Regions from separate parts of the Homo sapiens genome. Here region 2 is linked to region 1. Evidence: promoter capture Hi-C in human tissues and cell types (Jung and others, 2019). All regions are on one chromosome and are shown on one strand. Each heading gives the region's core, a stretch centred on a gene start or on the middle of the fragment in contact. The rest is flanking DNA. Distances are from core to core; before and after follow the strand shown.

Region 1 (6,336 bases), core at 3,041-5,540:
CAGCCCTCCTTGGAAGTGCTTTTGCCATGGAAATAAAACTTCCGCTTGGCCATGAAAGACAGAACCCATGTCTGCTGCTGTTTCCAGGCTTCCCAGCTCCACAGACACGGGGAAGAACAAGGTCTGAAAACAGGAAGCAGAGCCAGAGCTGCTGCCAGACCCTGGATGCCTTTCTGTTCTGGGGAGCTGGCTCCAGGCCAGCCAGGTCTCAGAGCCCCCGGGCAGTGGATGGAGGGGAGGCTGCCCAAAGTGCCTGTGGCTCTTTGCCTGATTCACGGTCAGCGCCACAGGAGAGGGTCTCCTGGGTCCTTGCCCTACAGCTGCTCACTGGTGAAGAAGGAACGAGGGAGCCAGGTGCCAGGCCTAGATCCACCACTTAGTGGGTGGGCCAGGAAACCTCTTTGATTCAGTTTCCTCATCTGAGGAGGAGGTCATGACCCTGCAGGGCAGACATGAGGCAGGGCTCCATGGGATCGTGTACATCAGGCCTGCATCTCAATGCTCAGAACATCAGGAGCAGCAAGAAGGATGAGCTCCCTCCTGCCACCTGCTTTTATCTTCCCGTGGAGGAAGATTGACTCAAAACTCAGTGGGCTGGCTGGCAGTGTAAGGATTTTGCAGATAGAGCTGACAACGTGATTTTGCAGACCCCAGAAGCTGGTCTGCAGGACCAGGGCAGGGAGCTCCTGTTGGGCCCTAAATTGTGAGCCCAGGATGTGTATGATGCATGGACAATGTGGGCAGAAGCTGGGGCAGCTCATCCCAATGGCAAGAGCCCTTCATCTGCCATTCAGCACAGCCTCAGCCCTGGAGGTGGATAGTGGCGATGCCAAGCTGAATAAGACACGGCCCCCTGCCTTCATGGAGGCCCTCGGCTGCCAGGAAGAGTGAGGCAGCAGTCTCAGGCACAGAGTCCCATATTCGGCATGGTAGCTGCAAGGACCATGAGGACAAGGAGGGGATGATGAAGGGTTTCACAGAAGGCAAGATGCTGGGGGTTCATCTTGAAACATGAGCAGTGGAGAAGGAGGGTGGGAGGGGCATTGAGTATTTCAGACAGGGAGAGAGCAGCATGGTGGGAGAGCCCAGTGCATACGCAGAGCCGTGGAAGTAGCTGCATCAGTCTGGGCACAAGCACTGCATAGAGATGGGTGGTGGGGGGGATGAGAATGGGAGGGGAGCCTGGAAGACAACAGCTGGGAAGGGGAGTGGGTGCAGCATGGAATCTGAAGAGCTGAGAGGAGGCCCATGCAGAGCTCCAGATGAGAGGTGATGGAGGGCTGGGCAAGGTTTTTTGCCATGATAGAGATGGACAGAGGAGGAACAGCTGTCAGGACTTGGTGACACAGAGAAAGATGGGGACTTTGGAAAAGCACAGCATGGGGGTCGAGAGATGGCAGCTCTGGGCCTGGCACTCAGGAAGTGCCAGAAGGGATTCCCTTTTCAAAAAACATCCCACTACCCAACTCCACCCCCAGAACAGCCTGAGTACAGCTCGGGCGCAATCATGGAGGCAGCTGGTGTGGATGCCATGCCCCATTGGGGTGGTCAGGTGGGGGTGCATGGCAGCTGGGGGAAGGGGTCAAGATAGCTGACGGGTTCCATGTAGGGGTCCCCTGAGCCTTGCTAGCTGCCTGAGTCCAGTGTTGAGGCACACTGAACTCTAGACAGAGGAAGGGGAAATGTAAGCCACCCCTCCCAGGGTACTGCATGGACAACATGGTCCACACAATGGTCCTAGAGATATCAAGTCCTCATCCCCAACCCCGTGACTACATAGCAAAAGGGGCTTTGCAGGTGTGATTAAGTTAATGATCTTGAGATGGGGGTGGTGGTTATCCTGGATTATCTGATGAGCCTCTTATAGAGAAACGCCACACTCTGAGATGAATTCAGAAGTCCTTTATTAGCCGGCAACCGAGAGACGGCTAGTGCTCAAAATTCTCTCGGCCCTGAAGAAAGGGCTAGATTTTCTTTTATACTTTGGTTTAGAAAGGGGAGGAGGAGCCTAGCTGAAGCACTCTTACAGAAGCAAAACAGGCAAAAAGTTAAAAGACAAATGGTTACAGGAAAACAAACAGTTCCAGGTGCAGGGGTTTTAAATCCATCACAAGGCGATAGATGCGGGGGCTTTGGGTACCATCAACCGGACACAAATGTGGGGGCTTAGGGTACTATCAACTGGGCAAATTCCTGGGAACTGCGGATATAGCTTGCCACAGTATCTTATCCATTAATTGCATTCTTTGATGTGCTGGGAGTCAGCTTGCACAAGTTAAGTCCTTGAGGAAGGGGGGTGGGTAAGGGGCTGCAAGTGAAGGAGCCAAAATGGAGTGTGTCTGGCTCTCTCAGCTAAGGGACAGTCAATTCAGGTTAAAACAAGGTAGGGTATCACACTTACAAGAGGGAGGCAGAAAGAGTTGATGTGAAATGACCTGGAGTGGGAGAGGTTAGAAAAGGCTGTGCTGCCGGCTTTGAAGACAAAGGAAAGGGCCACTAGCTAGCAGCCTCTAGGAGCTGGAAACGCTGGGAAACAGCTCCCTTGCCTCCAGAAGGCACAGGCCCTGCCAACCCAGTTTAGATTCCCGACCCCCCGAACTGTGAGATAACATGCATGTGGCTTAAACTACTCAATCTGTGGTACTTTGTTGCAGGGGCAACAACAAACATACAGACATCTAACTCAGACCCGAGGCCTTGGGTGGGACCCAGGCCCCATTTCCTGAGACACCTGCTCCCACAGCGACCTGGGGTAAGCAGAAGTGGGGGAGGATTCTCCAGACACCCCAGACTGTCTCCAAGTAGAGCGGAGATCTCGCCAGTTAAGCGCACAGCTGAGGACAGTTACTGGGTGAAGTGGCCTGGGTCTCCGCCTTCTCATGCCCCCACCGCCCAGACCCTAGAAGGGGAGTGGCTGCGGCCTCTGCACCCTGGCGCTGAGGGCTCCCAGACCCGGCCCAGTGGGGCACCCCAGTTCACCACCCTCCTCGCCTTAGGTGAGCCAAAGCCCAGGCAGGGTGGAGCCTCACGCACACTGACTGCCCCCTAGGACAGGCACAGGTGACGCGGGGGTGTGGGACCCAGGCTATGACTCTGGACATAACCTTCAAGGCTGTAAAACGAGAAGGTCCATCCCCCCAAAACACGCACTCCCCCACAACCACCCCCTCCCCCCCCCCACACACACACACTCCCCTGCACCACAGATACACACATTCCTTTCGCTCCCCACTCAGACGCCTCGAGGCCTCGGCGGGGGAACCATAGGGGCGCGACCAGGGCGCGCCGAGGTGTGACCAGAGAGGACACGCAGCGACCTTACTCCCGCCTTTCCCGCAAGGCGCGTTCGCCAGCCTGGACTAGTGGGCACGGGCCCTGCGTTCTAATAATCACCATAATAATAGGCGCTGGGTGTACAGAGGGGACCCAGGCGACGCTGGCCTCCATCCGATAACCACCGTAACAGGGGCTGGGCCGCGCCGCTCCTCCGCTCTAAGTGCTCTTTACATGCTTCTTAAGTTACCGGCAGGCCAGCCGCCCTTACGAGAGCCCCTCACGGACATTAACCCAATTGAGAAGACTGAACCCAGCTTACGAACGTTAAGTTGTCCCAAATCGCAGGGCTGGCGAGTGAGGAGCCTGAATTGGAACCCAGGAGCTTCTGGAACCCGCTCCAGAATTGCGCTCTCGACCGGTTTGTCCGCTGAGAGCGAACGGGTGCGCGAGCGCCGCATCCCTGCCCAAGGCCATCAGGCAGGCAGCGCTGGGGCCGGGGACCCGCGCGGAGACTCCACCCCGGGATCCGGGAAGGCTCCCCCGAGCCGGGGTCGGAGCTGCGGCTGGAGGGGCCTCGGCTTGAGGAGGATCTGGGAGGGCGGGGGCTCAGTCCTGGCCACCAGGTGTGAGGGGTCGGGTGCGGAGCCCTGTGTCAGACGCGGCGGTGAAGGCTGTAGCCCTGCTCTCCGGGATGGGGGTGGTACTCTCACCCCACCCTGCCCCAAGCCGCAGGGAGCCCCTGGCGCCCCTGGCGCCCGGGACCCGCCCTGGCTGGAGCCCTGCGGTTTCCGGGAGCTCACGGTCGGCTCTGCGCCCCTCCACCGCCGGGCCTGGGCCTGGGCCAGGGACGGGCTGGGGCGGGACTGCGGCCTCGGGGCGCTGGGTCCCTGCCCCTGCCGTGCACTGCGCGGCTCCCCGCGCCGCAGCTGGGCACCAGCAGCACCACGGACCGCCCCTGTGCTCGCCCGACGGCGCCCCGCGGCGCTTTAAGAGACGGCCTGGCAGCCCAGCCCCAGCCGCCCAGACCGGCGAGACCAGCCTGCGGGAGCAGCCCCATGGCGGGTAAGCGAGCCTCGCCTCCCCAGCCCAGCCCCGGCCCCTCTGCGACCCTTCCAGCACTTGCCTCCGCCCCGCCGCCCCCGCTGGGGTGCAGCGCCTGCCCTGCCCGGCCTCGGCGCGCTCTTGGAGGGGCACTGGGATGGAGTAGACGCTGAGGCCCGCTCTTCGCGGTCAGTTGCGGCTTAGGAGGTGTGGGGGGTCCGGCCTTCTCACCACCCCACCCAGTGCAGATCCCTGAGACCTGAATGCCCCGCGGCCGCACGTCACCCTAAGGGAGGCACCTTTTTGGCCCGCCCCAGGTGGCCAGCGGTTGGAACCCAGCGTCTGAGCACCCCCGGGGCGAAGCCTCCTAGGTCCCGCAAATGCGGACGTGTGAGGGCCAGCAGCAACGGGGTCTTGCCCCCTTTTCCTCCCCACCTCGTCCACCGCGTCGCACCAACTCCCCTAAGCGCGTGCTCACCTTGATAGAGGGCTAGGGGAGGGAGCGGGTGTTAGAGAAGAGTCCAGCCTTGCAGCAGGTTCCAGGGCCCCAGAGGGTAGAGGTTTGATTGCAGACCAGGGGGAAGGTACCTTTCAGGGCTTTCCTTAACTGACTGCGTCCACACCCCAGCTCCCCTCCTGGCCTCAACAGGAGCCCAGGGGATATGGAGGTTCTGGTGAGGGCAGGTTTGATTTCTACTCAGAAGCGCAAGGAAATGGCTTCTTTAAGCCAGAATCCCAAGGGCAGGGCCAGCTGTTTTCCAAGGAAAACTAGAAGGTTCTGCCCAGGGCTCTCAGACCCTGGGGTAAACGGCTTCTCCTCTGAGAGCTGGCGGAACCTAGCCAGCAGCATCCCTCCCGGAACCCATCCCCAGCAGGCCTGCTCCTATCACTCCTGAGATCAAACCCAGAGGCAGGGTTGCTGCCCTAGTTCTGCCCCAGCAGGCCAGGGCTGTGAGGGAGAGTGGCTTTCCCAGGCAGGCATCATAGTACTGGTGGTCTCTGCCCCCAGAGCAGCTGGCCCTGGTGATTGGGGGCACCATCGGGGGGCTGCTGCTGCTGCTGTTGATCGGGGCAAGCTGCTGTCTGTGGAGAAGGTTCTGTGCCACCCTCACCTATGAGGAGCTGCCTGGGACACCAGCCATGGCCACCACAGCTGCCTCCAGTGGGCAGCGGGACAGGCCCTGCCAGCCGCATGCTAGGACCCAACTGAGCAGGTGAGGCAGGATGTGGGGCCAAGTGCGCCCCTGGAATTTCCCTCAGGGTGGGGTCGAAAAGGAAAGTTCTGTTTATGGGGGTGCCTCTTCTATGCTGCTTCGGTGCTGGGAGCTATCACAAAGAAACCCCAGAAACCTCACATCAGCTATTAGGCAGGTGTTATGAAACCCATGTTCCAGGTGAGGAATCTGAGGCTCAGTGCACATAAGCAACAGGTCCAGAGAACACAATTAGTAAGTGGCAGAACAGGAATCCAAACCCAGACTGGCTGACACTGTCAGGTGCTGTGTTCCTTCTTCAAATCCCACTGCTGTGTGTGTGTGTGTGTGTGTGTGTGTGTGTGTGTGTGCGTGTGTGTGTGTGTGTGTTGCCTGGTATGGGCCCAGAAAATGGTGCCCTGGCCTCCTCCTGGCTCCCGATGGCTTTTCTTCCTCCAGCCCCTGGTGCTCAACCGTCCTGGCTGAGCGCTCTGAGACCACACCATTGACTTGCCACCTACATGTTGTCTCCCTGACTCTGGACAGGCCACCAGCTGTGCCATTCGTGGTGCCCCCAACCCTTCAAGGCCGAGATTGGGTGCCCCTGCACAGTGGAGAGTGGGCCGATGCCCCATGGGACCCCTGCCCGGCATCAGAGCTGCTGCCTCACACCTCCAGCGGCGGCCTTGGTGAGTGTCCTTGCCAGGGCTGCCCAGAGGTCAGGGTCTGCTCGGGTGGCCCCATCTGCTTTCACCAGCTTGGCTCCGGAACACAACCTGAACCAGCCAGGGATGCCAGGGACCACCCAGGGACCACTCTTTCTGGG
Region 2 (5,934 bases), core at 1,115-3,614, 120 kb before region 1:
GTTCAAGACCAGCCTGGGCAACAGAGAGAGACCTCATCTCTACAAAAAAGGAAAAAAAAAAGGAAAATCAGCCTGGACAACATAGGGAGACCCAGTCTCTATCAAAAAAAGAAAAAAAAAGATTTAATTTTTTAATTAGCTGGACATGGTGGTATGCACCTGTGGTGCTAGCTATTCAAGAGGCTGAGGTGAGATGATCACTTGAGCCCAGGAGTTCGAGTTGCAGTGAGCTATGTTCATGCCACTGCATTCCAGCCTGGGTGACAGAGCAAGACCCTGTCTCTAAAAGAACAAAAAAAAAAAAGAGAGAGAGAGAAAGAGGCTAGACAAGTCTCTGGAGGAGTTTTGTGCAAAAAGGAGCAGAGAACACTGATGGTGTGAGAGTGATGTTCTTCAGGAGATGACAGTGAATGGGATCTGGGGACAATGGAGGTCTTTGGGGCTGTTAGCTTGTTTGTTCTTCTCTGGCCATTCCAGCACTCAGGGTCACCTTCCCCTCCAGGCCCCTCCACTCCAGTGACTCCTTTGGTGACTTATCCACTCATGCATTCTGAGTCTTTCCTGTATCACCTCCTGACCCCTCCAGTGGCTCAGTCACTATCTAGCTGTGTGACCTTGGATGAGTCACTTAACCTCACAAGAAGCAGCAATCAGTGAGTCCGGTGACTTCAGTTTCTTCCAGTATCAGGGTGGACAGAGAGTCACAGTGGTAGGACCTGGGGGTGTTTCTCTAAGGTATGTGGAAATTTAGGCTCCCCTTTGATCTCAGATTCATGGAGAACCCAGAACTGGTTATTAGAAAACTCTTGCGGAGTGAATAGGTAAGCTTCTTTCATATTAATTCTTCACTTGGCAAATGCTTAAGTGCCTGCTCTATCCAAGGGTGTGTCAGAGGTTTTGCAAGGGTGGAGGATGAGCCTCTTGGATTTTACCCTCAAAGAGCTCATAACCTTGTGGGGTGGTGGGTGTGTCTATTCAAAACCATAACAGGGCAGACTCTCTGGCACATCATTTTGTGTTCATCTTTAGGACCAGTTGTCACAGTTGCACACACAAATTAAAGTTCCACAGGAGGTGGGATGTTTTCGGTCTTGTACTCTATGTGCCTGACACATCGTAAGCAGTCAGTACATGTTTGTTGAATGAAAGCAGTATTGAATGGTACCATTTAATTTGTGTTTTGAAGCAAGGGTGGGATTTGGACCTACACAGATGGGCGAGGGGGCGCATTGCAGACTGGCGGGGGTTGGGGTGGCTGGAGGCAGGAGGAGGGAATGGCGGGAGCAGATGTACAGAGACAGTGACACCCAAGGCATGGTTGGTAATTGCAGGCCGACTGTGACTGGATCGTGTGATATGTCAGGATGCAAAGAGACTGAAAAAGTAAGTTGGGGCCAGATGGTGGAGAGGGTTGAATTCAAGCTATGTTAAAGGGATCAGATTTATCTATAGTAGGATGATCTCATGTTCCCATTTCCCAGGGTAGTTTTGCCTGTTGTCCCAGGGTGATTATTCATGGTGGCCCCTTTCATGCTCAAGTATCCCTGTTTGGATAAGTTATGTGGTCCTGCAACCCTAAAGGCTTTGTGGAACCCCCAAAGGTTTCACAGAGGGACAGGGTCAGGCTAGCCTTGAATGGTCAGTGCCCACAGTGTTTGCTGGACCTGGAGGCAGGAGCTGGGACACCCTCCAGTCTGGGCGATACAGGTCAAAGTCTTTTGGTTAATGGTAAATCACCAACAGTGGCCAGGGTACGGTGAAATGGGCACTCTTCAGGGAGTGCCCTGAAATTGTTCCAGACCTTTTTTGGAAATCAACTTTGCAGCACACGTCAAGAGCCTTGAAAACTGTCCATGCCCTTTGTTAATTCCACTTCTGGAAATCTCTCCTAAGGAAATAATTCCAAATATAGAAAAGGTTCTTTGCATAGACGTTCATCATAAAACTCTATGCAACAGGTCTAGAGACAGCTCAGAATGCCACAACAGATGATATTAAGGACATAGGATATATCTATCAATGGACTCTAAGTTCCATAGAACAGGGACAATGTCTGATTACAACCACTGTATCCCCACAGCTAACATAGTGTCTGACATATTTAATGAATAAACAAGTGAATAAAAATTTATATCAGGTTAAACAAAAAAGATATAAAACAATCCTTAAATATGATATATAAGTTCCCATGTGGACACACTATGCTCTCAACCATTTTTTTAAAAAACAGACATATGTATATGACTATGCATATGAAAACTTTTAAAATGACTCCCCAAAATGTAAACAGTGATTATGTCTGAGTGGTGGAACTCCTGATAATTTCCTTTTTTCAATTTTATTTTTGTATATATTGTATATCTTTCAGAATGAATATGATTACTTTTATAATGGAAAAAAAAAGGCCACATCAATACTTTAAAAAAGAAAGGCTAGCATTAGGCAGGGTTTTAGCACTCACAGCCAGGACGTGATAAAGTTTTGCATCTTCCAAGGGTTCCCAGTCAGTCTTTGTGGTATGAGTCTCCAATTCCAGCCATGATCCTCCTCTGTAAGGTGGGTACCTCCCACAATGGGTGGCAGAGGGTCCACTTGCTGGCTAGAGATGCCCTCCCACCCCCCCCACCACCCCCAGGAGCTAGAGATACTGAGGGGTACTGGCTTTCACTGGGACAGTTCGTACACTTGTAAGCGGCCATCAAAAATGATATCTAGGCTGGGCACGGTGGCTCATGCCTGTAATCCCAGCACTTTGGAAGTCAGAGCAGAGCGGATCACCTGAGGTCAGGAGTTCGAGACCAGCCTGGCCAACATAGTGAAACCCCATCTCTACTAAAAATACAAAAAAAAAAAAAAAATAGCTGGGTGTGGTGGCAGGCACCTGTAATCCCAGTTACACAGGAGGCTGAGGCAGGAGAATTGCTTGAATCCAGGAGGCAGAAGCTGCAGTGAGCCAAGATCGTGCCATTGCACTCCAGCCTGGGCAGCATGAGTGAAACTCCTTCTCAAAAAAAAAAAAAAAAAAAGATATCCAGCAAGATGAAAAACTGTTGATGATACAGTTTTAAGTGAAATAGAGCAGAATACAAAAAGCCATGTTCACTAAGAACATATCTATGCAAACTATGCACATGGCAAATATTTATCAAAAGAATGAAAAAGCCTCACAAAAAATATGACCACATGCAGCCAGAGATGAGACAGACAACCAAAACTGAATGCACCTTTTCAGCAATAACAATTTTAGAGACGTTCCCAGAACTAGGATGGGTGTCTACAGGTTCTTACCCAGTGTCTCTAGGCTCCAGGGCAACCTGTTTCTTAGAGCAGAGCTTCTCAAACTTTAATGTGCACACAATTAACCTGGGATCCTGATAAAACATGGATTTGGATTCAATCGAGCTGGGCTGGCAACAAGGACTCTGAATATCTACAAGCTCCAGGTGATGCTGGGGCACAGAACACACTCAACGAGGCTTCTACCCACTACCCCAATTCTTAGCACCAAACACTTTCCCCAGAGGCCTAGCCTGGCCCTCCGTCCTCAAGCATGTCTGCACCTGAAATCATCTTTGTCCCCAGCATCTTGGCACCATCGAGACTAATAATGAGAAGCAACTCCAGGCACTTGCGTGGGATCCAGGGGGGCCTGAGGCCCCCAATTCCTTGGGAAGCTTGAACAATGACATCTTTCTGGGGTGATGGGAAGACAAAAGTGACTCCATCTTGGATGCTAATTTTCCCATGTTGACTTCTGATTAGCCCCAGTCCCATGAATGCCTCCTGACTCCTACTTTATTTACTGTCCCGAGTGTAAGAATATGTACTCCTGCTTTTAGATCAAAGCAAGCTTGATGTTATCATGCAAATTCTGGGCTATGATGCACATGGCGTTCTTGCCTGCTCTGGCACACTACCTTTCACTGTCTTGCTGGAGCATGTATATCCTTTTCCCTTGGTATATAAGCCTTGGGTCCGAGAGTAACAGTGCAGAGATCTGCCTGTCTTGTGGCCACCCGAGACCACCCGCCTGCTTAAAAGTTCCCTCAATAAATCACTCAATACCAACAAACTGGATTTGTCTGCTTCCTTCTTTGGTCTCTTGGCTCCTTTGGCATTTGGGGGTTGCTTTGTGCATGTGGGCTTTTCACAAAATAGATGGGTCCCGGAGCCTGGGCTTCGCTGGCAGGTGGTCACCTGGAGCAGCCAGCAGCAGATGGCACCACAGGACAAGCACAAGCTGTGTCCAAGAGAGTGGCTCAAGAAATCTGCCCAAAATCCAACACAAAAATGAACAAAGGAACTGAATGGGAGATGTGACCAAAAGAAGCGATAAGACAAACAGCTCCAGGAGGGGAGCTGCTGGCTCAAAGAGCACTTGTCTTGGGCGTCAGTTCCACCGGTTCTTGGTCAGGGGTGAGAGCCCTATGCCAGACCCCCTTTGCAGAACCTATGCTGGCTTATGATGAGGCTCTTCCAGGGCTCCAGCACATGAATACCCTGCCCTGGGAGGCTATAGTAGGCCAGCCACTGTCCACTCTGCTGGAGGGTCAGTCTGAGCCAACAGAACCATGCGGAGACATCCCATCCAATGCAGCCCAGGAGCAGTCTTGACATTTCTTTCCCTGCAAGGACAGGCTGTCTGGTCCACACATAGATGAAGCCTTGGGCCTGGTTCAGCATCCAGAGGACTAGGCCATAACCCCCAAGGTAAGATATTCACACTCATTGGAGCCCTTTCTCCTTTTTCCCTGGATGGCTGGAGGAAGGGGACCCCTGCTTTTTTCAGCCAGTGCCCCATGAAGTTAGACTCCCAGGACTCCCTGCCCCTGATCCTACTTAAGGCCACTGGGATGCCCAATACCCTGAGGAAGCTTTGAAAGATACGTGGCACATTATCTGGGGCAAGTCAGCTCAGTGGTCAGAGCACAGAGTGAAGGAGGCTGCAGCCATAGCCTTGAGTTCTGGAGGCCTCTGTAGTGGGTCAACAGTGGGGAGAGCCACAGAGTCTCGGTCCAGCTACTGTATCAAATGAGGTCCTGGGAGGCAAGGAAGGGCAGGCAGGAGACTATGGCTGCAGGAGCCTGAGCCCTGGCCCCCTTCCCATGCTGGACTCCTGTCCAGCACCAAACATTCAGCAGTGAGTGGCACCTTTACCATCAACCCACCATGGAAAACTTCCCTGGAGCTCTCTCCTTGTGCCAGGGCCTGTCCATGGCATGTAAGACACAAGCCCCATGATGGTATGGATTTCACCTGCAAGGCGCTTGCCATCTCATCGAGGAGAGGAACTTGCAGGCTGATTTCCATGTAAGGTGGAAGACACAGTGATAGAGAAAAGGGATGGAGTAGGAAGTGAGTCCTGGAATTCCTGCTGCAGAGGGCTGTAAGCCAAGACTACTGCATCTATTGTCTTCAGCTGGATGCGCTAATGATCTAACAGTAATCCCACTGCTTTGCATCCACAGAATTCTTTACTTCTGAAGCACCTCCACACACCATCTCTCACAGAGGTGAAGAGTTGACCAAGGTCTAGAGCTCTGACTCCAAGCGCTCCTTCCCTCACCCCACAGTGGCCCCGTGGTCTCACTGGTGGAGGTGAAATCCCTGGGTTCCCAGGCCAGGCATCTGTTGCTGTGTCACCAGAATGAACCCTGCCTGCTGCCAGCAGACATCTCCGGCTCTGGCATCTTTCAGCTCAAGCTGCAAGGCTTACTGTGACCTCTGGAATCTGTGCTCAGAATTCTCCCAGGAACAAACAGCTGAAGTATCAAAATGCCAGTCTTCACGATGCAAATGGATGCAAAAACAGCTCTTGCCAGCCTATCTGGACCCCAGAAAGCCAGGAATGCTGGGGTGCCACCCCAGCTTGCAGTGTGCCCACTTAGCTAAGTGGAAGAGCCTGGCAAGGGACATGGCAGGGAGAAGACCTAG

What was found. The method cuts DNA at HindIII sites, captures the fragments that hold promoters and counts their contacts. A contact is called where the count stands out against the background at its distance.
Region 2: a contact is called between a fragment that was not itself captured here and the fragment with the promoter of SYT15 in region 1, in 5 of the 25 tissues and cell types used here (H1 embryonic stem cells, IMR-90 fibroblasts, aorta and 2 more).

Annotation. Positions count from the first base shown.
Region 1 is chr10:46,574,838-46,581,173 of GRCh38, forward strand. It overlaps SYT15 (synaptotagmin 15), which reads left to right and starts at 4,291. Exons shown (of 8, transcript NM_031912.5): 1 at 4,291-4,338; 2 at 5,327-5,531; 3 at 6,057-6,199. The coding sequence starts at 4,332. RefSeq lists enhancers at 1-6, 7-768, 4,156-5,033, 5,034-5,913. The HindIII fragment of the contact is 17,987 bases long and covers 1-6,336 here.
Region 2 is chr10:46,455,568-46,461,501 of GRCh38, forward strand. It overlaps NPY4R (neuropeptide Y receptor Y4), which reads right to left. Exons shown (of 3, transcript NM_005972.6): 3 at 5,532-5,934. Among named protein-coding and RNA genes, the nearest start is that of NPY4R, 7.4 kb to the right of the region's middle. RefSeq lists a silencer at 3,975-4,575. The HindIII fragment of the contact is 3,996 bases long and covers 367-4,362 here.